Regions from separate parts of the Homo sapiens genome. Here all the other regions are linked to region 3. The links are contacts of gene promoters, found by promoter capture Hi-C in blood cells and fetal thymus (Javierre and others, 2016). All regions are on one chromosome and are shown on one strand. The core of a region is centred on a gene start or on the middle of the fragment in contact, and the rest is flanking DNA. Distances in the headings are between cores, read along the strand shown.

What was found. The method cuts DNA at HindIII sites, captures the fragments that hold promoters and counts their contacts. A CHiCAGO score of 5 or more calls a contact.
Region 1: a fragment that was not itself captured here is called in contact with the fragment with the promoter of SSTR2 in region 3 in 2 of 17 cell types (M1 macrophages and M0 macrophages); the score reaches 6.6 in M1 macrophages.
Region 2: a contact is called between a fragment that was not itself captured here and the fragment with the promoter of SSTR2 in region 3, in 1 of 17 cell types (M1 macrophages). The highest score is 5.5, in M1 macrophages.
Region 4: a contact is called between a fragment that was not itself captured here and the fragment with the promoter of SSTR2 in region 3, in 1 of 17 cell types (M0 macrophages). The highest score is 5.0, in M0 macrophages.

The regions. Positions count from the first base shown.
Region 1 is chr17:72,870,995-72,877,634 of GRCh38, reverse strand. All of the region lies in intron 5 of SLC39A11 (solute carrier family 39 member 11), which reads left to right. Among named protein-coding and RNA genes, the nearest start is that of SLC39A11, 220 kb to the left of the region's middle. The HindIII fragment of the contact is 1,356 bases long and covers 2,271-3,626 here.
Region 2 is chr17:72,850,752-72,856,940 of GRCh38, reverse strand. All of the region lies in intron 5 of SLC39A11 (solute carrier family 39 member 11), which reads left to right. Among named protein-coding and RNA genes, the nearest start is that of LINC00511, 210 kb to the right of the region's middle. The HindIII fragment of the contact is 7,198 bases long and covers 1-5,253 here.
Region 3 is chr17:73,162,030-73,167,888 of GRCh38, reverse strand. It overlaps SSTR2 (somatostatin receptor 2), which reads right to left and starts at 2,879. Exons shown (of 2, transcript NM_001050.3): 1 at 2,601-2,879. It also overlaps the pseudogene POLR3KP2. RefSeq lists a silencer at 2,625-2,964 and an enhancer at 3,505-3,754. The HindIII fragment of the contact is 15,303 bases long and covers 1-5,859 here.
Region 4 is chr17:72,887,261-72,893,348 of GRCh38, reverse strand. The region is part of intron 5 of SLC39A11 (solute carrier family 39 member 11); the gene reads left to right. Among named protein-coding and RNA genes, the nearest start is that of SLC39A11, 200 kb to the left of the region's middle. The HindIII fragment of the contact is 353 bases long and covers 2,300-2,652 here.

The sequences.
Region 1 (6,640 bases), core at 1,699-4,198, 290 kb after region 3:
CTGGGAAAATTGCCTGCAATTTCTCTGTCTCTCCTAGCTTCAGATTTTTCTTCCACCTTGATTACCTCTCATGAGCAAATGGGGGGAAAAGTAATTGGTAGGTTTCAATCAAGCATCGTGAACTGATTGCGAAAGAAAGGTTGAGGCCATTTTCCCCGCTTTTTGCCCATTTTAACGTGGCACTGGCCAGAATGAAAAAATTGTGTTTGAGGTTCTAATTGCCCACCCTTCAAAGGAGTCAGGAAAATGGGCTGTAATATAAAGCCGCCAATAATTTTGCCTTGTGAATTACTATTCAGAGACCCAGTGTCATGAATGTTCTTGAAGCAAAGAGAGGTGAGAGAGAAAGGCAGTTAGATTGGAAAGACAGGAACATTTGATCACAAAGCCTTTTCTGGCATTTTCCCTCCAAAGCACACACCTAACACACACCATCATTTTTTATAACTTGAGGCTTACAATGATCTAAAGAAAAGGGAGTGTATGTGTGTGTGTTGGTGCCCTTCTTTATAGAGATGATGATTCTTTTGGCTCTTTTGATAAGATGATGCTTAATTAGATTTTATCTAACCCAGGTGGGACACTAACCTACATTATGCATTTTTTCTTAGCCTACCTTGTAGCCAAGGACCTGCATTTGCTGGGTGCCTGGCTAGGGCCTGGGAGCTTATTTTGTGGTTGTGGGCACAGGGAAATTGGAGTGGTTTCTGTAGGCTCTAAGTGTTACTGAAACCAGGGGTTTGGTCTAGGTCTTGTTGCTTGCTGCACAGAAAGCCAATCACTGAAACAGTGGGTACTGCCAGGAAAGGCCTTAATCAGGTGTTGCAGCTGAGGAGATAGGAGGTCAGTCTCAAATCCTTCTCTTCAACTGACTAAAATTAGGGGGTTTATATAGCAGGGAAGAAATGGAACCATGTGTGGGGAAACAGGAATTAGGGAGGAGTAGAGGAGTTGGTCAATAGGAAGCACATGATCAGTTAGGTGATCATGACAGGTGAGGGGTTTCATTGTCCAGATGCAGTGATTGGTAAGTTTCAGCTCCATGATACTATCTAGGCACTAGGTGGTTGGTTTTCTGAGAAAGGAACTCAGATAAGACGAATGTAACTTTCTCAAGTTTTAAGGCTGGGAGGGTCCATTTCTGTGTTTATTCAAAAGAAACCATAAATATCAGTTTCATGCAACAATTAGGCCTGTTTCATAAGTTCCTGTGATTGTGATCTTGCTAGCACTATGTTCTAACAAGCAGAGACAAACTTTTGGAACTTAACAACATGCTTCCTTGGCTTCTTTGTACTTGACTTTGGCTTTGGGGCCAGGGGATATGAAGCATTTGACCATTGCCCATTTCTCCCCTAAGTATTCTACAATAGCTCTTTATTTTTTATTTGACCACCATAATCCAATTTCTGTTTCCACCCATTGATCTTGATGGAGGCTTTTGGGCATGGCAGAGCATGGTTATGTCCCAAAATCACAAGAAGGAAACATTCCAGGTTTAACTTTGACACTCCCATGACTGGTCCCACAGAGCAGGGCTACCCTATAAGGCAGTGTGACAAGAGTAGCAGCTCAGGGCAGTTTTGCAGTTATATTTATAACCTACTTTTAATTACATTTAGATTAAGGGGCATTATATACAGAAAATCCTAGGAAAAGGGTGGCAGCTTTTGGGTCATTGGGTCATTGCCATGGAAAGGGGTGGTAGCTCCAGGATGTTGCCATGGCAGTGTTAAGCTGATATGGCACACTGGGTGGACATGTCTAATAGAAAGCTGCTTCCACCCTGCCCCTGTTTTAGCTAGTCCTCAGTTTGGTCCCGTGACTGAGCCTCGCCTTTGGAATCAAGTCCCACCTCCTTCCTCAGAAGGAGGGTCTGACACAGTAAGCATTGAAAGTGCTCTAAGGGAAAAGAAAGAAATAGATTAGAAAAGAAACAATGACTCCGAATTAGATCATCGTTAATAAGTAAATGCATGCGAACTGGGAAATCAACCAGAGCCACATGAATGTAGGATGACAGACACACGCATAAACATGCACAGCCATGGGTGCCTTTGTGGGAGATGAGGAAGGGAAGGGTGGACAGATTGTTGGAGCATTTGGCATCAGTGGGTTTGAATAGCTTTTCCATAAAACTCTGTCTCACTTTGCAAATTAGCTGGACAACCTCAGGGGGTTCCAGAATCCCGCTGGCTTCCTGGGAAGTCCTCAGGTAGGTAACAGCTGTGTTCAGAAAGGTGGCTGTCACCCTGGCCATTATGAAAGCTTCATCTTTCTCCATTGGCAGTTCTTGGGGACATGAAAAATGCTCCACTCTGCCTCGGTATAATTAAACTTTGGGCTGAAGTTTTACCCTTAGCCTTGCTGGCAAATTCAATAATGATGAATTAATTGGAATATTTACAGTGTTAATGTGAACAAGATTTAAAATAATATACACAGCTCACTTCCTTACATTTCTTGTGACTTCCTCCCCTTTGAAAATGTTATTTCTGCATCTAATTGCACCAGTTTTTTCTTCCCAAAATAACCCTGTCTCCTCTTTTTCTCTCTTTGCTGTGATTTACTCCCTGTGTTTCTCTCGTGCTGTGTTTGAGATATATTTGCCCATCTGAGTGTTTTTGGTTCTGGTCTCTCCCTCCTTTCCCCCAGTTTATTCAACCTGCAGCCACTGTAATATTCTTTAGCTTCATTTGGGGTACAAAATGTATTCCACTCAGTTTTCAGTGGGAAAGAACGAGGAATGACTGGGTCCCAAACTCTACAATCTTTGTCTTATTTCCTTTGTCCACAGTTGGGTTGGAGGCCCTGGCTGTGCTTTCTTCTTAGAGCGGGACAGGGGAATGGGCTTTTGCTGGCTATGGCCAATACAGACAAAACCCAACATTGCTACCACTTCCTCCTCTCCATCAAGGATACTTCTGCTCATTTTTCAGGGCTCGCTCTTTCCTCTCAGGGTGTTCCCTGATGATTTCTTTGGAAGCAAGGTTTTGAAGGTGACAGGAGACAGGAACCTGCATTTTCTTTCTGGACCGATAACTTCAGGCTCCTATACCAGGCTGTTCACCTGCAAAATGGGAGAAGATTATAGGACCTTGAATTACCAGCAGCGGGGTTTTCCCCTCCCTCCTGGTGTCAGCTTTGCTCAGCATCCCTGCGACAGCCTTGCAGATGGACGCCTCAGCTTCTTGTCCACAGAGCATCCATCCTAGCTGAGGATGGAGCTTTCCCACAAAATCATGAGAGGGAACTGCATGTCCGGGGTGGGAGAGAAGGAACAGAGACAGTTCTACATCGGGCAGGAAACCCAGAGTGGACTCTGGATTTTCTCTTTGCTTTGGAGCAAAAATCATTTATGCTCACCAGTCCCAGGTGATTACTTTCCCTTGGCAAACATTTAAGTGATCATTTCTTACCTTGTCTCCTATTATACTGTCAACCATTAAGACTTTATTGCAACTGTGGTTTTGTCTTCATCAAGGAAGGGTGCCTGTGGTTGGAAGGGAGTATATTAGTCGGTTCTCACGCTGATATTAAAGACATACCCAAGACTGGGTAGTTTATAAAGGAAAGAGGTTTAATGGCCTCACAGTTCAGCGTGCCTGGGGAGGCCTCAGGAAGCTTACAGTCATGGTGGAAGGCACCTCTTCACAGGCAGCACAAGAAAGAGTGAGAGCTGAGCAAGTGGGGGGAGCCCCTTATAAAACCATCAGATCTTGTGAGAAGGAATCACGAGAATAGCATGGGGGAAACTGCCCCCATGATTCAGTTATCTCCACCTGGTCCCACCCTTGACACATGGGGATTATTACAATTCAAAGTGAGATTTGTTGTGGGGGTGGGGACACAGAGCCAAACCGTTTCTGGGAGCGAAACCCAGTTCAGACCAGCTAAAGGAGGAAGGCAGAATATATTCCAAGGAAACAATCCAAGGGCAGTGTGCTAAGTTGAGTCTCATGGGGTGCTAGAGTCAGGGGGTGGGAAATTGAGGGCACGTGTTCACATATTCTCCTTTGCCTCCCACCAGGGTCTCTTTTTTCTGTTTTCCATCAGCTCTCTTCATTCTGCAAACCTGCTTTCTTAGTGCAGTTGACTGATGCCCAGAAAAGCCAAACACTTAATGGCAAGAGTTGCAGAAGAGAAAGAGTTTGATAATTATAGGGCCAGCCAAGTTGGAAGGATGGGAGATGTATCTCAAGTCCTCCTCCTCACATATTTGGAGGCTAGAGTTTTTCAAGGGTAGTTTAGCAGGCAGAGGGCTAGGAAATGGATAAGGTGATTAGTTGGCTCAGGGATGAAATCACAGAGGGTTGAAGCTATCTTCTTGTGCAGAATCAATTTCTGGGTAGAGGTCACAGGACCCAGCTGAGTCAGTTTCTTGGTATAGGTTTCCCATCCAGGTGGTGCCAGCCGGTCCATCAGAACGTGAGGTCTGAAAAACACCTCAAATACCAGTCTTAGGTTTTATAATAGCGATGTTAAGAATAGGAGCAACTGGGGAGGTTATAGATCTTGTAACCTCCAGCTATATGAGTCCTGAACCATAATTCTTTTTTTTTTTCTTTTTTTTTTTTTTTGAGATGGAGTCTTGCCCCTGTCGCCCAGGCTAGAGTGCAGTGGCGCGATCTCGGCTCACTGCAAGCTCCGCCTCCCGGGTTCACGCCATTCTCCTGACTCAGCCTCCGAGTAGCTGGGACTACAGGTGCCCGCCACCACGCCCGGCTAATTTTTTGTATTTTAGTAGAGACAGGGTTTCGCCATGTTAGCCAGGGTGGTCTCGATCTCCTGACCTTGTGATCCACCTGCCTCAGCCTCCCAAAGTGCTGGGATTACAGGCATGAGCCACTGCACCCGCCCCTGAACCATAATTCTAACCTGGTGGCCAATTGGTTAGTTTTACAAAGACAGTTTCAGTCCCCACAACGGAGGGGGTGGTTAGTTTTGGCAAGGGACTGTTATCATCTTTGTTTTAAAGTTACACTAGAAACTAACTTCCTCCTGTAGCTAGCTTGGCCTATGTCCAGGGATGACAGCTTATGAGGTTAGAAGCAAGATGGATCAGCTATGTAAGATTTCTATCACTGTCATAATTTTCGCAAAGGCAGTTTCATCAGCTTTTCGGTGCCATAGCCAGTTAGGAGCTACGCCACTGCCCCCACGTTGTTACATCCTTATTTCGAGAGACCAGTTGAGTCTGAGAATCTGGCAGAGTTGGGTGGGTTGTACCCGTCTGTCGAATCTGAGAATCTGGCAGAGTTGGGTGGTTTGTACCCATCTGGCCCTGATGACCTTCCAACGCCCCTGGGGATCAGAGTGGAGCTCAGCTGTATCCTAGGGTTTCCCATGTGTGAGGATGTGGATGCGCTGTGGGTGGCAAGCTAGGGACACACCCCAGAGGGTCTGTAAATCCAGGGATGTGGGTCTTGGCTTCCAACTCCCTCCACTCCTGGGACTTTGCTGGGTTGGAATCACCTGCCCTCCCCAGGCACTGGGACAGGAGCAGACACCATCATAGACATTACTCTCTTTACCTCTTGTATAGGAAAAATCATTGCCTTTATACTATCACTCAACACAGAACGTTTCTGTGACCAAATGTGTGCAGTGTTCCTACACCAAGCAATTCTCCAGTTTTGTAAGGACACCAGCTGAGTGTCCTACAATTGAATTCAATTCTGCCACTGTGTACCTGGAGACAGCAACAGGTCCCACAGATGAAGGGCTACATCCCACAAGATTGCCCCCACTTCAAACAACAATTACAGATCCAGGCTCTCACCCATCCAACTGGAGGGTAAATCAGAGGTCCCCACAACCCCCTCCTCAAGTTTGATCATTTGCTAGTATGGTTTATAGGACTCAGGAAAACAATTTACTTACAGGTAATCAATTTATTATAAAAGGACCCAACTCAGGAACAGCCAGGTAGAAGAGACACACAGGACAAGGCCTGGGGGATGGGGCACATGTCACCCTTCCAGCACCCCACATGTCCAGCCACCAGGAAACTCTCTGAACCCCGTCCTTCTGGGGTTTTATGGATGGGTCATTATGCAGGCATGATGGATTAAATCATTGGCCAATGGTGATCAACTCAACCTGTAGGCCCTCTCCTCCTCCCCAGAGGCCAGGTTTGGGTGTGGGGCCCAAATTCAACTCTCTAATCTCATGATTGTTTCCCCTGGCAAACAGCGCCCCCCATCCTTAAGGGCTTTCCAAAAGGCACCGCACACATGTAAACTTAGGTGTGATTGAAAGGGGCTTGTTATAGGCCGGGTGCAGTGGCTCATGCCTATAATCCTAGCACTTTGGGAGGCTGAGGTGGGTGGATTGCCTGAGCTCAGGAGTTCAAGACAAGCCTGGGCATATAGTAAAACCCTGTCTCTACTAAGATACAAAAAAATTAGCCGGGCATTGTGGCACATGCCTGAAGTCCCAGCTACTCGGGAGGCTGAGGCAGGAGAATCACTTGAACTTGGGAGGCGGAAGACGCAGTGAGCCTGGATTGCACCACTGCACTCCAGCTGGGGCAACAGAGAGACTCTGTCTCAGAAAAACCAAAAAAAAAAAAAAAACAAAAACAAAACAAACAAACAAAAAAAACCAAAAACCAGAAAAGGGCTTGTTATGAATAACA
Region 2 (6,189 bases), core at 405-2,904, 310 kb after region 3:
GGGAGGCCAAGGCAGGTGGATCACCTGAGGTCAGGAGTTCAAGACCAGCCTGGCCAACATGGTGAAACCCCATCTCTACTAAAAATACAAAAATTAGCCGGGTGGGGTGGTGCATGTCTGTAGTCCCAGCTACTCTGGAGGCCGAAGCAGGAGAACTGCTTGAACCTGGGAGGCGGGTGTTACAGTGAACCGAGATTGCGCCACTGCATTCCAGCCTGGGTGACAGAGCAAGAATCTATCTCAAAAAAGAAAAAAAAAAAGTTTTAATATTGAAAGAGACAATTGCCTGAGAAAATTAGCTTTCAGGATCATACTACATAGTTCCATAAGGAAAGCAGGTAATACTTTTTTTTAAAGCCCTATAATGTCTTGAGGAATCTCAAAAAGGAATTTTAAAATTTGAGGCTAAAACTCCAACTTGGCCAAGTGGATACGTCTGTCTGATGTATAATAATACCTGCTACTCCCAGCTAGGTCTCATTGACAAACCTAAGCGGATCACAGGAAAATTACCAGTGTCTGTAAATAATTAGCTAATCATATTACTGTTATTTAAAGAGGCCTCATTTGGGCAGCAGGCATCTTTCAAAAGAGGAAAGAAATATGCCTGAAATTGAAAAATGTTCCACCTCACTTGTAGTCAAAGAAATACCCATTAAGAGAAATGTCATTTGCCCCATAAATAAATATACTTATTTCAAGATGAGAAATACCAGGGCTAAGAAGCGGCATAATGAGAACTTGCAAACTCTGTTCATGGGTAAGTGACACAGCCTTCCTGGAAATTTATTAGGGAATTGTATCATGGCCCTTTGATCAACAGTTCAACTTCTGGGAACTTTGTCCAATTTCTGATTGTTTATATACATTAAAGGTTTTACAGTGATATTTATAAGAAAAAAAGTCTAGAAATAGCCAAAAGTTCCCATCATATGAGAATGTAAATAATAATTTGTGTTACCTGAAACTAGACTGATTCTTTGGGAAACAAGAAGGCAGGGACAATATAAGTTGATCCCCTTCTATTCTGCTTTTTTTTTTTTTGAGACGGATTCTCGCTTTGTCGCCCAGGCTGGAGTGCAGTGGCGCCATCTTGGCTCACTGCAAGCTCCGCCTCCCGGGTTCACGCCATTCTCCTGCCTCAGCCTCCCAAGTAGCTAGGACTACAGGTGCCCGCCACCACGCCTGGCTAATTTTTTGTATTTTTTAGTAGAGACGGGGTTTCACTGTGTTAGCCAGGATGGTCTCGATCTTCTGACCTTGTGATCTGCCCACCTCGGCCTCCCAAAGTGCTGTGATTACAGGCGTGAGCCACCGCACCCGGCCTCTATTCTGCTTTTGATTGGCCTTTGGTTTTGTTTGTGTATACATACTACTTAATGAATATATGTTGCTGGCCACTCTTCATTTTGTTTTGTAACAGGGGTTTAGAAAGAGTTTTTCCAGGGATTTGATGCTTTCTGCACTTAACAGATGACGATTTGCCATTTGTGCTAATCCAACCAAATCATCTCCAATAATACCATGGGAATGTTGTTAAAGCTCTCTTGGCTAGTGTTCTGTTAATTAGCATTGCCATATTCATCGGGGGCCTGCAATTCCATCATTGGGCCCATTAGATTTAGCCGGTTACACCATCTCAGGGACCACATACATTCTGTGTTGCTGGTGTGATTGGGCCCGTGGGCTATGAAAACGGAGGTTAACTTGGCATTTATCTAGCAAGATGTTCTCAGTCTGACGTTCTTGAATCCATAAGGACCCGACAATTATTTCAAAATGGTCTGTGTATTTTTTGCTGGATTGTAACTTTCGCCGTACTTTCAAAGGCGGTTGCTGATCCAAAATGGTTTGGGGCCATTCACTAGAGGACTTCAGAGACTTCCACTCTGCAGGGAGGAAGCCAGACCTTGAAGGGCAGGGGCTTACCTGGGCAGCAGGGTTTGCTGATGGCCCCTGGGCTTGTGCCCGCAAGACCCGTGTCTGCTTTTCTCCATCCTATGATGTTTTGTGGCCACAATCATGTCCTTTGTTTTGGGGAAGAGGAAATCAGGGAAGCGGATGCATCAGAAAAGATCACCTGGTGATTCCGTGGGAAAAGTGAGCCTGGGACTTTTCTGTCTGTTTTATTGTCGTCCTCACCCTTTCATGTAGCACTGTGGTTCTTTTCCAGGAAAGATGGAGTGGGAAGGATGAGAGGCTGAGCCCTGGCAGTGGGTCCTTTCTTTGTGTGAATTCTTAGATGCTCAATTATAAGTTAAAAAACAAAATTTTAATGATGGGCAACTTTTTTTTCCTAACAACAAAGAATCTTCATTCTCCTTCCCAAAAGAAGTATAAGCCTGTGTTGTGGGCTTAGCATGGGTAAATATTTTCTGCTTGCAATTACTTTATGCTTAGAAATAGTAGGTCTAATGGGTTAACACATACTACTATCATGAAATGTTTCAGGTTTGTCTGCAAGTAAGAATGATTATAGATACGAGATTTCTCCTGAGTCTTTCCCCACTCTGGTCACAGGCAATGAGAGCTCACCAGACTCTCCTTCTCACGGCAGCAACTGCTCCCACTACCTTTTTTGGCAAGCAATGAGCAGTTCAGCCTTTTCTCCACCCCCACCCCACCCCCCACTTCATCCCCAGTCAACCATGAGGCCCTAGTTAAAAGAGGGGCTCCTGGAGGCAAAGATGCTGAGTCGACTCCTGAGTCCACTGCAGACTGGCTGTGTGACCTGGGACCAGTTACTCTGCCTCTCTGTTCTTCAATTTACTCATTCGTTAAAGGGGATTAATCTCTACTTCATGGGGCTTTTGTAAGGATTGAGGACTCATTGAAGATAAGTTCCCAATATTACCTATTAACCAGTGTCTCTGATGTTGTTTTGCTTCTGAGTTTGACATTGACTATTTCATCCCTAAATGAAATAGTCCCCCCTCTACTCCTCCTTCCCAAACTCCACTTCAAAAGTGCCCAAACCTTTCCAATTTCAAGAAACCTCACGAGGTTCTTGTCACTCTGGCACACCCTCACATCCCACAAGGTGCTTGGCAATTGCCTCCGCTAACTGATCATCCTTTTCCCACGCACTAGCATTTTACTTGATGGGTGTGATGGTTGAACTAGCCTTACCAGGAGCGGCAAGAAGATTCATTGCTCACGACGCATCATACTCTGTAATGATTTATTTGGACTAATCTTCCTTGTTGCAGACTCATTAGTGGCTGTCACCAAATGGTGGCTTATTTAACTTTCACAAGGACGTGAGGCATTCACACCCTCCTGTTTCCTACTAGGGAAGGCACTGACGTCAGTTTTCACACATTGGAAGCCTGGGGCCAGGCGTGCATTTTTATTTTGGTGAAGAATTCTTTATGCTCCTTGATGTTCCTATAAAACACAAGCAGAACGCTAGAATTTGCTCGTGGTGCGTCCGAGGTCTGTTGCTCTCTGTGCGGTATCTGCAGGAGATTCAGAGTAGGATCCTTTTGTGACATTGGCAAAAACAAGCGCAACTGTCGGTGATTGTTAGAGTGTGTGTTTAGCCCCTTAGATTTGAGGGAATTTGTGTGTGTCTTCTCTGTCTGCCCTCTCTTAAATTATAAAATCCCCAAGGGGCAAGGTGCAGTGGCTCATACCTATAATCCTAGCACTTTTGGAGGCCAAGGCAGGTGGATCGCTTGAGTCCAGGAATTCAAGACCAGACTGGTCAATGCAGCAAAACCCTGTCTCTACTGAAAAAAAAAAAAAAAAATACAAAAGTTAGCTGGCCATGGTGGCGTGCACCTATAGTTCCAGCTACTTGGGAGGCCGAGGTGGGAGGATTGCTTGAGCCTGGGAGGTGGAGGCTGCAGTGAGCTGAGATTGTGCCACTGCACTCTAGCCTGGGCAACAGAGTGGGACCCTGCTTAATCAATCAATCAATCAATCAATCAAAAGTCTGCAAGAGAAGAGATTTTTCTTTTGGCCCCTATCAACTCTCACTGGAGAGCATCTAGTGCAGGCCTGTATGCTCAGACCAGGCACAGGAAATCAGGAATGTTTGCTGACTGATCTAGGAGAAAGCTGAGGACCCTCCACCATGACCCAGGTTAGTTCATGGACAGCTCTCAGGGACTGCTTTGCTTATGTCTTTAGCATTTGTGAGCTTGAAATCCCAGATGTTTAGTTCAGTTTCTCAACCAGCATCTGCAGCCTGAGTCATCTACATATTGTCTACTCAAAATGTATAAAACCCCTTCCCCCAATGTGTGCACAGAAGTGCACACATGTGCATACATACACGAAGGTGATCTAATATCTCAGGATGGTACTGAGTAGCAGTTGTATGCACCCACACGCACATACACATGCACACATGCACACACACACGTACATGCATACACATGGTGTGGATACCACACAATGAGTGTGGAGCTTCGCCTTGTGTAAATACTGTCTGGGAGGAGTTGCTATCCAATTGAGACAGCTGAATTCTCCACAGGCTGGTTATGTGAGTCAGGGCTACTGACCAGTGGAGGACTGGCATCCTTGCGTTGTGGAGGACCAAAGACCCCCCTTTTCCTAATGGAACTGAGATTCAGCTGTTAGTAAGAGAGAAATGATTGGGAGCTGGGGAGGAGTGAGTCTACCTGCCCTGTACTTTCTTACTTTTCAATCTGTACTTGTAGGATTTGAGCAAATAAATACAAAATGATTTTCTTTCTTTCTTTCTGTTTTTTTTTTTTTTTTTTTTTTTTGAGACGGAGTCTTGCTCTGTTGCCCAGGCTGGAGTGCAGCCGCGGGATCTCGGGTCACTGCAAGCTCCGCCTCCTGGGTTCAAGCCATTCTCCTGCCTCACTCAGCCTCCCGAATAGCTGGGACTACAGGCGCCTGCCACCACGCCCAGTTAATTTTTGTATTTTTAGTAGAGATAGGGTTTCACCGTGTTAGCCAGGATGGTCTCAATCTCCTGACCTCATGATCCGCCTGCCTCGGCCTCCCAAAGTGCTGGGATTACAGGTGTGAGCTACTGCGCCTGGCCACAAAATGATTTTCAAAAGAAGTTTTTTTCTTCTAATGTTTTTAAATTTATTTAAGCATTAAAGGCTTCGTGAATTAGGCAGCATTCAAAACTAGAAGACATTCAGAGAGCTCCGTGTTTTTTGAAATTCAAGCAGGAAATAAAGTATAGAAATAGCTTAATTGGTTACAGTTAGGCATTTACCTTATTTGGACTTAGTCTGATCAGTTGGCTGCCTCTGGTTGGCTGAAGCTTGGCTGCCTGTGATTGGTTGAAGCTCAGCCGCTTGTGATTGACTGAGATCTAGCTATCCTATTACAAAAAATATATACTCCTAATGAGATTTTCATTTGTATACATACTAAGTTAGGTTGTAGTTCACTGCGAAGCAACTCAAAGTACAGCCTCAGACCAATGGCCTTTTGCTTATTTAATTTAACAGACACCTGAGTTATGCTTGCTGGGTTTTCTCTCCCAATAAAGGGACCCTTCATTCTGTCTGTGCCATCACGTGTTTAAGATTCACTCAAGACCTATCTCCTCTAGAAAGCCTTCCCCACAAATCCATCCCATGCTGTGAACTGAAAGCTGGATGCTCTCTCCCACTCTTGTCCTCCCAATTTCAAATCCACACAATTTGGCTCCATTATGAATAAACAAATAGCCCAGGGGACCATGGATATTTAGAATAAGGTTCTAAGAATGACATTCTTCCAATATAAGCCAATTTGTAAAGGCATTTTTAAAAGGAAGGTTTGCTCAGAAAACCCAAGGGCTGGGTGCTACGGATGGCCCATGAATGTCTGTGGCACGTGGGCTGCAGTTCTGCCCTTCTCTCTCCTGTCTAGCTGCATGGTTTCCCATCTCTGCTTGTTGATGTATATCTGATTCCTTCTGATTGTCTGTCCAGCCGCTTCCCTCGTTCCATTGTGGCAGAGCTGCTCGCGCATCACGTGATTTTTCAGATTTAGCTTGCACGTTGGAGTGGCCAATTCTCCCTGGAGAGGGATTCTGATTGGCTGAGCCAGGCGTCTGAATTGGTTCCCATAAATCAGTGTGACCAGGAGAGCAGGGTCACATATTATGTAATTCTGTACGGCTATGGGAGAGGGAACATGATACTAACAATAACCATCAATACAATCAGCACTTAGTACATTCTAAGTACTTTCAGACATTGTTGCATTTAA
Region 3 (5,859 bases), core at 1,630-4,129:
ATACAGCCATTCAAAAAATATCACGGGGGTTGGGGGCCTGGAGAGGAGGCTTCTTTGTGCTGACAGCAGGGATGTAGAAATGAACAAACTTGGCCAGTGCCCTCTAGGAGGTGATAATTTAAAAGGGGAGATAGGAAAGGAAGCCAGCTCATATAGGGTGGGCATTGCACGAGAGATAAATGAAGGACTTAAGAATGCCTTCCTTTCCTGGGGGACTCAGAGGAGGCTTCCAAAGAGAAGTGTTTGAGCTGGGTCTTGGGTATATGAAGAGTGAAGCAGGAGGACAGCAAAGAGGCCAATCTAGGAAGAGGCGAGATGTTCAAAGGGTGGTGTGTTCAGCAGAGTGGGACTAATTCACTTGGCTGACACATTTCCCCTGAGCTAGGTCCTTTTCCTGGTGCCTGGGTGTAGATGGAAGATTACTTCTTAATCCTTGGAAAGACTGCAGATCAGTTAAAGGAGACTTGGCCAGCAACAAGTACTTGAGGATCCTTGCTCACCTTTGCTTCTGATTGATTCTGAACTGCCAGGTGCATTGCTCGTTCCTTCTGTGCTCATTTCCCTACCACACAACTGTCTGTGAAGTGAGATCTGGGCTTTGTGGCTGACCATTTTGTGAAGTATTTGAGGCACCTGGAATTTCATGTCTGCATTGCGTAAAAAAGCATAGACTGGCAGCAATTAAAACAGAAGCTGTACAGAAACTGTGGTTAGTATCCCTGGATTAACTTGGGTAGTTTCGTTATCACTTCTAACCATCTGGTCAGTTGGTTTAATTCTACAGAGCCAGAATCCTATTCAAGCTGCCTGCAATCAGAGTGTACCTTATCATGGGGATTTCCAGGGGCCCATCTATATAACATGAATGGTCACACTCCAATGTCTGAGTAACACGGAATCCCCCTGGGTTGGCAGAGCCCCTGTCTAAGAGCTTTTGGGCTAGGAACGATGATGGTGCAGGGAGTATGAGAGAGGGTTGAGTGTTGCTTTCCAGCCCTAACTCGGTCATTTTAACTGGAGTTTGAGTCAACAGGACAGAATTGCTTAATGGTAGCAACAGACAGGGTTCAGAGTCTTGGTGAAGGTGGTGGAGGTGGGAGGCTGGGGAGCCGGCTGAGAGTGGGAAGGCTCCTCTAAGCAAGAAATGAGCTTAAATCATGGGGAGTCTTATTTAACAAAGAAGTCAGCCGCTTAAGGTCTTCCAGAGACTTCTGTTTCATTTTTGTTTCAGAGAAAGAATATTCCAATGCCAGGCAGACAATTCTAGATGAATTGTGGTTAAATTAAATGTACAAGGAAGTTTCGTTTTCTGCATTCTTTGTTTTTCCAGCCCAAGAATTGTTAGATGCTGGAAATGGCTAGTGGTTGGTTTCCTCTGAACCATGTCCAGGCTCTGTAGAGAGGAGGGTGAGAATGGTCTCACGCACCTGCCCCCCCCGCCCCCCTTTTACATAGGGGCTGTGATTACCAGCCCAAGAAATGAGTGTTGGGATGGCGACCCGACATCAGGGGAGGTCCTAAATCCTACTCAGCTTCAGTTTCTCCTCTCCCCATCATGTTTCCCGCATTCACTTCCCACCCCCCGCCTCCCTCAGGGCCTGCAGAACCCGGCTTGGTCTCTGTGCGGCTAGAGCGAGAGCCCCCACTGGCAGGGTGACAAAAGCCCCTGAGGGCCACCGCGGCGCGTGAGCGCCTGGGAAAAGCCGGGGCGGTGCTGGCCTACGGGGTTGAGAAATGGAGGGGCGAGTGTCAGGACCGCGGAGCCGGTTGCTCCCGGCTGGCACAGAAAGTCCTCCTCCTGGCCATCCAACTCGCTGATCCTCAGAGCAAGGGTTTCCCAAAGAACTCTGTGCCATTTCCAGGAAGACGAGGCAAGAGCGGAGATTGTGGCGCCAGCACGCCCAGTATCGAAACGCACAGCAGGGGTGCCGGGTGTGGGGGGGGGGCGCTGAGGACAGAGACATCGGGGCGCAGAAGACAGTCGCTTGGGGGACTTGGCCAGCGGCTTTTGGGCACGGCCTATGCAGTGGTTTTTTCTCTCCAAACCTAGACAAACTGTCCTTTCTGTCCCGAGGTGGGGGACGGGGACGGATCCTAGATCGTTCAGCGTCTAGGGAGAGAAGCCCCTCTTTCTCCGCTCTGCGCCCGCCGCCTGCCTCTGGCAGGCTCGGATCTCCGGGTGCGCTCCCGCAGGAGCCCCAGCTGGCATCTCACGGCCTCGCTCCCCTCGCGCCAGGTCTCTTTTGTAGGGGGCTGGGAGAGAAGTTGTCACCCGTCGCAGCTACCTGAAATCTCGGGCTAAAGGGCACACGCCACGCACACGGGCATGAGGCTGCGAGGACACGTCCGTTCCAGCACACTCTACCCACAGCCCCCTTACTCAGGCAAGGGTACCCGTTGTCGTTCATTCCTACTACAATCACCCCAAAAGGCACAAGAGCGGAGAATCACGCACCGGGACCTAAGCTCAGGCACTCGGATGGGCACACCACCATCAGCGCAGATGCACACAGGTGCCCAAGTGCGCTTCTCGCTCCCTCCATCTCTCTTATCACACACACACACACACACACACACACACACACACACACACCCCTCACCTTTGCTTTTCCGCTGCAATCCGCTAGCTCCGGTCTCCGACACCCAGCGGCTGTCCCCGAGCCAGCTGGGCGCCGGGGCGCGCAGCAGCTTGGCTAGCGCCTGGCGCCGGACGTTTGGGGTTCCTGGCTCCTCGACCCTCTTGTGCCGGCTCCCGCTAGCCCCTCGCACGTAGAGAGCTCCCCTCGCCCGCAGACCCCCGGCGCCAAGCCTCAGACTGGGGCTCTGGGCGCTGGTGGTCTTGCGAGCGCGCGCGCATGGGTGGCTGCGCCGCTGGGACTGGCCCAGCCAGCCCGGGCCCCTCGGCACATTTCCCCACGCCCCCCTCCCGCTACGTCACAGCGGCTTCGCTCCGCCCCCCCAACCCCTCCTCCCGGGTCCTGCAGAAGGACAGGGGTGAGACCGGCTGAAACGCCTGCGGGTGGCCGCAGGCAGAGCTTACAGACAGCCGGGGAGCGGGGAGAGAGGGGACCCGCCTGCGGGGGCGTAAAAGGTTAAGCGTTTTCGGTCTCCTCAAGACTCATGGCAAGGACAAGCGCTATTTTCCCTCTGATTTCACAGAGTCGATTCCCTTCCACCCATATATTCTAGGCAGCTGGAGTGGCGGCCGGGGTGACCCAGACTTATACCGGGACCTCTGTGATTTCCTTAGCCAAACAAGTTAGCAAAGCTGTGTTTACCGTGGGCCAGCCCCGGGCGCAGGGCGCAGGGCCAGGCTAAGAGTAGGGAGAAAAAGGGCTCAGGGGATAGCGCTTCTCCATGCAGTTCCCAATGAGCGCAGGGAGTGTAAACCCGCACCTGGAGTCCAAGATTCAGTCCTAGGAGCCATCAGAGGGCCAGTGGACGTCGACTGGTCCCAGCTGTCCCTGCGTCCCACAGCTTGGAGGTGCAGCGGCCATACAGGTGGTCCCCTTGCTGTAGCCACGTCAGTCAGCACCTGCTGGTCTGACCCAGCACAGTCTCTCCTACATGCTGTGAGGGAGCAAAGGGGAGCAGGCAAGAAGTGGGAGTCGCATGGAGTTGCAGCTGTTTATTTTTGACTGTGATGATTCAGCCTCTTTTCCAATAGTTTAATAAGTCATAATCAATCCTGCAGCCTCCCCTTCCTCACCCTCCTCCAAGTACATAGGTATACACACACACACACACACACACACACACACACACCATCCTCAGTACAGTTTTAGAGGATGTGAAAACAGAAAGCAAACCCCAACTAGCTTTCTCTGTGAGCTGAGCTGCCTTGATTTGTCCATCCTATTATCTGATTTCCAATTCACCAGGGAAAAGTAAAAGTCCAGAAGCTGTGTGGCAGGTGGGGTGAGCCTTAGAGATAGATGAGTGACATGGAAAAGCAACCACCAGGTACAGCAGCAGCCAGCTCTCTCTTCTATCTGGGCCAAGCTGTATCTTGGGGTACCCACTGTGAGATGGGGATCAGGAGTTTCCATCTCTCTCTGAGACGTTGGTCATGATAGGGCTTAAATCTTGGCATCCTGGAGCTCAGGGTGAGATGGAAATTGAGCTGCAATTGCCTTAAGTTCCAGGAGTCAATCTGGGAGCCAGCATCTCTTTTAGACATGTGTATGCAAGTGGAAGGGCTGGGGTGGCTAGCTCACTGGAAGAGGGCTGTGTCTGCTCACCGTCAGTGGGAAGAGGGAGAGGCAGAGAGGTAATAGTAATATCAGGAGGGCATCGTGGAATTGTGCTCAGGGGAACTCGGCATCCTCTGGCCACACAGTTGCTACAATGCCTGTTGCCACCTCCAGTTTAAAACCAGTAATCTGACTGGTTTCCAGGAAAAGAAGGAAGAGCCAGGAAGTGCCCACTCTGCCCTCAAATTCCTTTCCTAAAAGTTCTCAAACTGTTAATACCAGATTTACGTTTCATTAAAAAAAATAATAACTGGAGCCAGCAGAGTCCGAGATGATGCTGCTGTTCTACCCTGGCTGCAGGGATGGGCTGATCGTGGAGGAGGGACAGCGCTGCCGCTGCCACTCCCTCGCCTGCAACACGTGCCTCTGTGTGCACTTCACCCACAAGGTAACAAATTGGAAGTACTCAAAGCTGAAAGAAGTGGATGATGGGCTTGGGGGAGCAGCTGCCTGGGAGGATGTTGACTCTACTGCAGAGCCATGTCCTCAATGAGAACCTCCTTGTGCTTACTACATGTAGCTTCAGACCCACTCTGCAGATGAGCCGAAGACCACCTTCTACCAGTGCTGCAGGACTCAGTGTGGACACCACTGGAGGGATTAGGGCAAGGACGGCCCAGGTGCCTGAGCGTCTGCTTACCTCCGGGTAGATGCTCAGCTGGGAATATGAATCGTGTGTCCTGAGGGTCTTTGCTGGTGTGGTGGAAAGCTAACCCTTTTAAGGTGAAGAGACAGGGTGTCAGGAAATGTGGCCTATCTGCCAGTCCGAATGGATGAAGTCATTGATGTCCAGGGAGTTTTTCTGTGTGGGGAGGGGACCCATAACTAAGTATGCTCTGTTTGAAGTCCTGTTCTTTCTTCCTTCCTTCCTTCCTTTCTTTCTTTCTTTCTTTCTTTCCTTCTTTCTTTCTTTCTTTTTTGAGACGGAGTCTCGCTCTGTCGCCCAGGCTGGAGTGCAGTGGCACGATCTTGGCTCACTGCAAGCCCCACCTCCCGGGTTCACACCGTTCTCCTGCCTCAGCCTCCCGAGTAGCTGGGGCTACAGGCACGTGCCACCGTGCCTGGCTAATTTTTTGTAGTTTTAGTAGAGATGCGGTTTCACTGTGTTACCCAGTATGATCTTGATCTCCTGACCTCGTGATTCACCCACCTCGGCCTCCCAAAGTGCTGGGATTACAGGTGTGAGCCACCGTGCCTGACCTCTTTTTTTTTTTTTTTTTTTTTTTTTTGAGATGGAGTTTCGCTCTTGTTGCCCAGGCTGGAGTGCAGTGGTGCGATCTTGGCCCACTGCAACCTCCACCTCCCAGGTTCAAGCGATTCTTGTACCTCAGCGTCCCGAGGAGCTGGGATTACAGGTGTGCGCCACCATGCCCTGCTAAGTTTTGTATTTTTAGTAGAGACGGGGTTTCACTATGTTGCCCAGGCTAGTCTCAAACTCCTGACCTCAAGTGATCCACCCGCCTCGGGCTCCCAAAGTGCTGGGATTACAGGCATGAGCCACCACGCCTGGCCTAATTTTTATTTTTTTTGAGACGGAGTCTCACTCTGTTGTCCAAGGTGGAGTGCAGTGGCGTGATGTCAGCTCACAGCAACCTCTGCCTCCCAG
Region 4 (6,088 bases), core at 1,227-3,726, 270 kb after region 3:
GCTGGGATTATAGGCATGTGTCACCACGCCTGGCTAATTTTTGTATTTTTAGCAGAGACAGGGTTTCACCATGTTGGCCAGGCTGGTCTTGAACTCTTGACCTCGCAATCTGCCTGACTCAGCCTCCCAAAGTGCTGGGATTACAGGCGTGAATCACCGCCCCGGCCCCTGGTCCATATGTTTTCATTCAATAGTATTGGGCTTCATTTTCCTTTTTCTTTTCTTTTCTTTTTGGAGGGAAGTTGGTAGTGGGTATTGTTTAGTTAGAACTTAGTATAAATGATCCTTTTGACAAGGGAACAAAAGCCCTCATTCTGATTGGCACAGTATTTGAAATCAAAGTCATAGCTATCATTACGAAGACCTCATTTCCTGATGATTGATTTAACATAATTGCCTCTTGGAGAACCTACCCTGGAAAATACATGGATGCTGGCAATGAGTGACTAGCTACATTCGTTCCCTTCCCTCACTCCCTCCAGTTTGTCTTTTGGATCCAACAAGTCAGTTGGAGGAAGGAGTTATGCGGGAAATGGCTGTCAAATCTGAACAGTTTCTCACTGCACTCTTTCTAAAAAACTTCAGAAATTGTCTATTATCCAGTTTACTGGTTGGATTGTGGACCAATTGTTTCTGCGTTGTGTTATCTCACCTAGAATCAACAGAAATTGATAGCATCTTTTAGCCCTGGAACCAAGAGATTCAATTTTGTCTCCTGCTCATTTGGAAAAGACAGGCAAAAAATAACCCCAAATCAGTGGGGAAATAGACTCTTGAATTTGAAACGAACCATACAGTATTATTTAATCTATTTATCTTTATTCTTTTTCTACCCCAGAAAGATAATTATCTTTTTTTTCTAAGACTCTCAAGAGGAGATTCTGTGTTTCTCTTTGACATCTATTCTGGGCTCTAATAAGATTTTTTTTTTTTTTTTTTGAGATGGAGTCTCACTTTGTTGCCCAGGCTGGAGTGCAGTGGTGTGATCTCAGCTCACTGTATCCTCCACCTCCTGAGTTCAAGCAATTCTCCTACCTCAGCCTCTTGAATAGCTGGGATTACAGGTATGCGCCATCACACCTGACTAATTTTTTTTTACTTTTAGTAGAGACAGGGTTTCACCATGTTGGCCTGGCTGGTCTTAAACTCCTGACTTTAGGTGATCTGCCCACCTCGGCCTCCCAGATTACAGGTGTGAGCCACTGCGCCCAGCCTCTAATAACTTTTTATAATTAGACAAGAAATTATTAATGTTTTCCCTTATATTGCTAGGGAAGTTCATTTCATCCTGTGCAATCCTTGGGGAAAAAAAATAGTCTTATCTCTACCTTGGCTCTTCATAGTATTCATTCAGCACATCTTTATTGAGCACCTACTGTGTGCTGGACACTGTGCTAGGCCCTGAGGCTGCAGAAGTGCATAGCACAGAACAGTAATGCCCCAGGCTCATGAGTTAGTGGAGGAGAGTTTTTTAAATTTTAAAATAATAAAAATTATTTTACATTTTTAAAATAATTTTAAAATTATGTTTTAAATAATTTTATTTAAATATAAAATAGTAATAAATAGTAATAAAATCATTTCTATTGGCTTTATATTATATATGCACTTATATGTATGTATCTGTGTGTGTTAATATATATCTATATCTATATGTGTAATAATGCCAAGTAGGTTTAAAACCAAAGAGGGAAGTAAAAGCGAGGTAATGGCCGGAGAGAGAGTGACCAGGGAGTATTTTTGATAGGATGTTCAAAAAAGGCATTGAGCAGGGACCTGAATCATGAACTGAGGGGAGAGAGTGAGGATAGAACCTTCCAGACTGGGGAGCAGCAAGTGGGAGGCTATGAGGGTGGGAGATTGGAAAGGCAGCTGGGGAACAGGATGATCTGAGGAATTTTCTTCAGGTCCTTCCAAGTCTTTATTTTCTCTGTTTTTTTGAGAGGGTAGAGAAGGTTGGCAGGGGCGTCCAGGCAGGAGAGCAAGAGTCCAAATCACCTCCCGGGTTCAAGCGATTCTCGTGCCTCAGCCTCCTGAGGAGCTGGGATTACAGGCATGTGCCACCACGCCCAGCTAATTTTGTATTTTTAGTAGAGATGGGGTTTCACCATGTTGATCAGGCTGGTCTTGAACTCCTGACCTCGGGTGATCCACTCACCTTGGCCTCCCAAAGTGCTGGGATTACAGGTGTGAGCCCAGCCTCATATGTCTTTTATCTGGAAAAGTCTTCCCTCCGCCCTGCCACCCCCCACCCCCCAACCTGATATCCATTTTGTTTTCTTATGTTTTCAACAAAGCTTTGGAAAATACAGGTACGTGAGAGCTATTTGCATTTCTTCACTTTCCACCCCCTTGTGATCAGCGACCCACTAAACATCAAATCCAGTGGAAAATCATGACTCATGATTTTGCTGAAATTCTCAGTATATTTGCAGTGCTTAATCATTCTCATCCTTCCTTTCTGGTGACATCTTACCAGTCCCCCTTTGGGCTTCTCTTTCTTTGCCTATCCATTAAATTAGTTTTCTATCCCCCTACATTTCATCAGCAGTCCACTTTTTCCTGGCATTCTCTCCTGGAATCTCACCCAGACTCACAGTTCTACTTAGAATTTAGGGGCTCAGGCTCCCAAATTGATTCTCCAGCCAAGCTTTCTTTCCTAAATGTCAGAATGAAATCCCCCTGCTCTTGCCAGATAGCTTACTTATCTGTCCAACAGCCACTTGTATTCAATGGGTCTAAAATAGAATACATTACCTGATAGCTTTTTTCTCCCAGTTCAGCTTTCTCTGTCTCCTTTATTACTTATACCCAGAAGAGTTGAATGGAACCAAATCTACTCAGTCACTCAAGCCAGGAACCTCAGCATCATTTCTCTCTTTTCCTTTTCTCTAATCCCCCAAATCCACTTAGTTACCAAGCCCTGCTGATTTTGCTTCACAAATGTTTCTTGAATCCCTTCCTACTATGACTGGTCTAGTTGAATCCCTAGTTATAACTTGCTGGGACCATACCAACGGACTCTTTTTGCATTCCTCTGCCTCTGGTGGTTTTTTTTTTTTTTGTTGTTGTTGTTGTTTGTTTGAGATGGAGTCTCACTCTGTCACCCAAGCTGGAGTGCAGTGGCGCTATCTCGGCTCACTGTAACCTCTGCCTCCTGGGTTCAAGTGATACTCCTGTCTCAGCCTCCCAAGTAGCTGGGATTACAGGCACCTGCCACCATGCCCAGCTAATTTTTTTTTTGTATTTTTAGTGGAGACCAGGTTTCACCATGTTGGCCAGGCTGGTTTTGAACTCCTGATCTCAAGAGATCTGCCACCCTCGGCCTCCCAAAGTGCTGGGATTACAGGTGTGAGCCACCATGCCTGCCCTGCCTCTGGTTTTGTGCCATCTCTCACCCACCTAACTCTATGCATTTTCTTGCTTCCAGCCCTTCACTGGATCAGAGTCCATTGCTCCTTACACGATACTCAAGCCATGCTACTCAGTACAGCACGTGGCTTCCTAGTGCAAATCACTAATACTCCTATAGGATGAATACAAACAATGAAAAAACTATTGCCGTGCAAGTGAGTCTTTGTGGCTCAGGATAAAATTACTGGTGACAGTATCATGCAGATTATGCAACAGCCAAATCTTAATTTAGATGGAAGTAAAAATTATGTGCTGTTGAAAATTGATAAGTCAAGAAGCGTTTCTTGTGAATGCAACAACACTAGCATCAAAGAAGCAGAGATTGAATCAAATTGTTTTGTGAAATGTCAGAATGTATAAAAGCAGTATTTGTTATTTAACGTATTTTTTTTTTTTTTGAGATGGAGTCTCCCTCTGTCACCCAGGCTGGAGTGCAGTGGCACGATCTCAGCTCACTGCAACCTCCACCTCAGCTCACTGCAACCTCCACCTCCCAGGTTCAAGCAATTCTCCTACCTCAGCTTTCCAAGTAGCTGGGATTACAGGTGCCCGCCACCATGCCCAGCTGATTTTTGTATTTTTATTGGAGATGGGGTTTCACCATGTTGGCTAGGCTGGTCTCAAACTCCTGACCTCAGGTGATCCATCTGCCTTGGCCTCCCAAAGTGCTGGGATTACAGGCGTGAGCCACTGCATCTGGCCATGTAATATATTTTATATAATATTTTATTTTATTTTAAATACACATCTGTAACTAAATTAATGGTTTAAGTATGGCTAATAGATATTTGGTATCCATATCTGCATCTCTAAACGTTTATAAATTCACATTGATCGAACCTCCCTTTTAAAATGGGCAAATAGAGATTTGCCCTGTATTCAGAGTCAGAGTTTATTTGGGCAATAGTAGAATTTTGCTTGAGTCTGAGGCCTCTTTATGAACATGTTTGACCTCTGCACACCATGTCTCTGCAACTGTATCTAGTTACTCCTGTCTACACTTTCGTTTTTTCTTTTCTTTCTTTTTTTTTGAGAGACAGGGTCTTGCTATACCACACAGATTGGAGTGTAGGGCCACAATCATAGCTCACTGCAGTCTTGAACTCATGGGCTTAAGCAATCCTCTCTCCTCAGCCTCCCAAGTAGCTGAGACTACAGGTGCACGTTACCATGCCTGGCTAATTTTTTCATCTTTTATCGAGATGGAGTCTTGCTATGTTGCCCAGGCTGATCTTGAACTCCTGGCCTCAAGTGATCCTCCTTCCTCAGCCTCCCAAAGTGCTGCCATTACAGGTGTGAACCACAACACCTGGCCTCAACACTTATCTTGGATGAAATAAGCTTAGAGCTGATCGAGTAGGCAAAATGATGTTGTTGCATGGGACTCTGAAAAGATCATGCCTTCTAAAATGTTTAGAAGCGTCTCTATTTAGGTCAGGGAAGAGGTTCCAGAAGGCCTTTTGGGAGATAAATGCAGGCAACTGTTGACAATCAACCACTAACCCCATCTGTTGGGATCAGGTAGAGCCATGTGTTTAGGCTCTTTTGAGTGGCTTTGTTCAGATCTATGAAGGTTCCTGGATTGAAAATTAATACGTTGAAAGTTCTGTATGTTTGTTCTTTCCTTAGCACTGTGGCAAGATACCAAAGAAATAGAAGGCATATTTTACATCTTCAAGCTTCTTATAATTTATTCGAGCTTAAAATGTGGAACAAAATAAGTTTAGACTCAGGGTTTCATTTTGAGTATGAAGGTTCTCCACCTCATGCACAGTATGTTCGTCCTAATATCTGTGGAATAGTTATTCAGTACTGACTCATACGACTCTGGGAAGAATTTTCTAGCTCTTGAGACATCTCAAATCACAAAAACAGAAAAATGTGTGTTTCTTTTTGTTGTTTTGTTTTTAGAAATAATGACTTGAGTGTGAGAGAAATGGAATTTCCAAGGCAGGATGGGAGCAGTGGGGAAAATATCACTTCGAAATTCTCATTGAAAACAATTGAGAAGTGGGGAAGAGTACTTTTCTTCACAAGCACATTCACACTTAGGGTTTAGGTTTGTATTTAGTTAGGACTGAGAGAACAAATAGAAGCAGAGATCTGCTGAGGAGAGATGGCACTTTAATAAGCAATTTTTTTTTTCGTTTCTAAATTTGCTGGAGTCCAGGCAAGCATGTACACAAATAGCCACAATTTGTAAATTGTTCCTGACATATTTTCTGCTCTTTGAATTCCCTGAATGCCTGCAATATAATTAGAAATAAGCAATCTTTTATATCAGTAATAGGAAAAAGGACATGGTTTCAGAATGCAAATAAGATGTTACCTAAACAGAAAATTATAGCATGGCTGCGACTGTTCTCGTTATGACGGAAGACGGGAAACTGTTGAAAGCAATAAGAACTGTGCAGTGTTGCATTCTGACATTTGTCTCTGCCTTTCAAAGCCACCTACTGCATACACAGGCACAAGAAAGATGATGCAGATGAAAGGGGAAGAAGGCAGAGCCCTCGGGAGAAGTGCTCCTCATCTTTGCGGCTGTTTCCTTAGTGTGGTTGAGCCCATTGGCTTGAAAACGGAGTTTCGATGCACTTTCTCTGTCCTGTTGCATAGCCCCTTTCTGATACAGACTGGAGGAGGTAGACTTTTCCAGGGGTCCAGCTTTCCACTG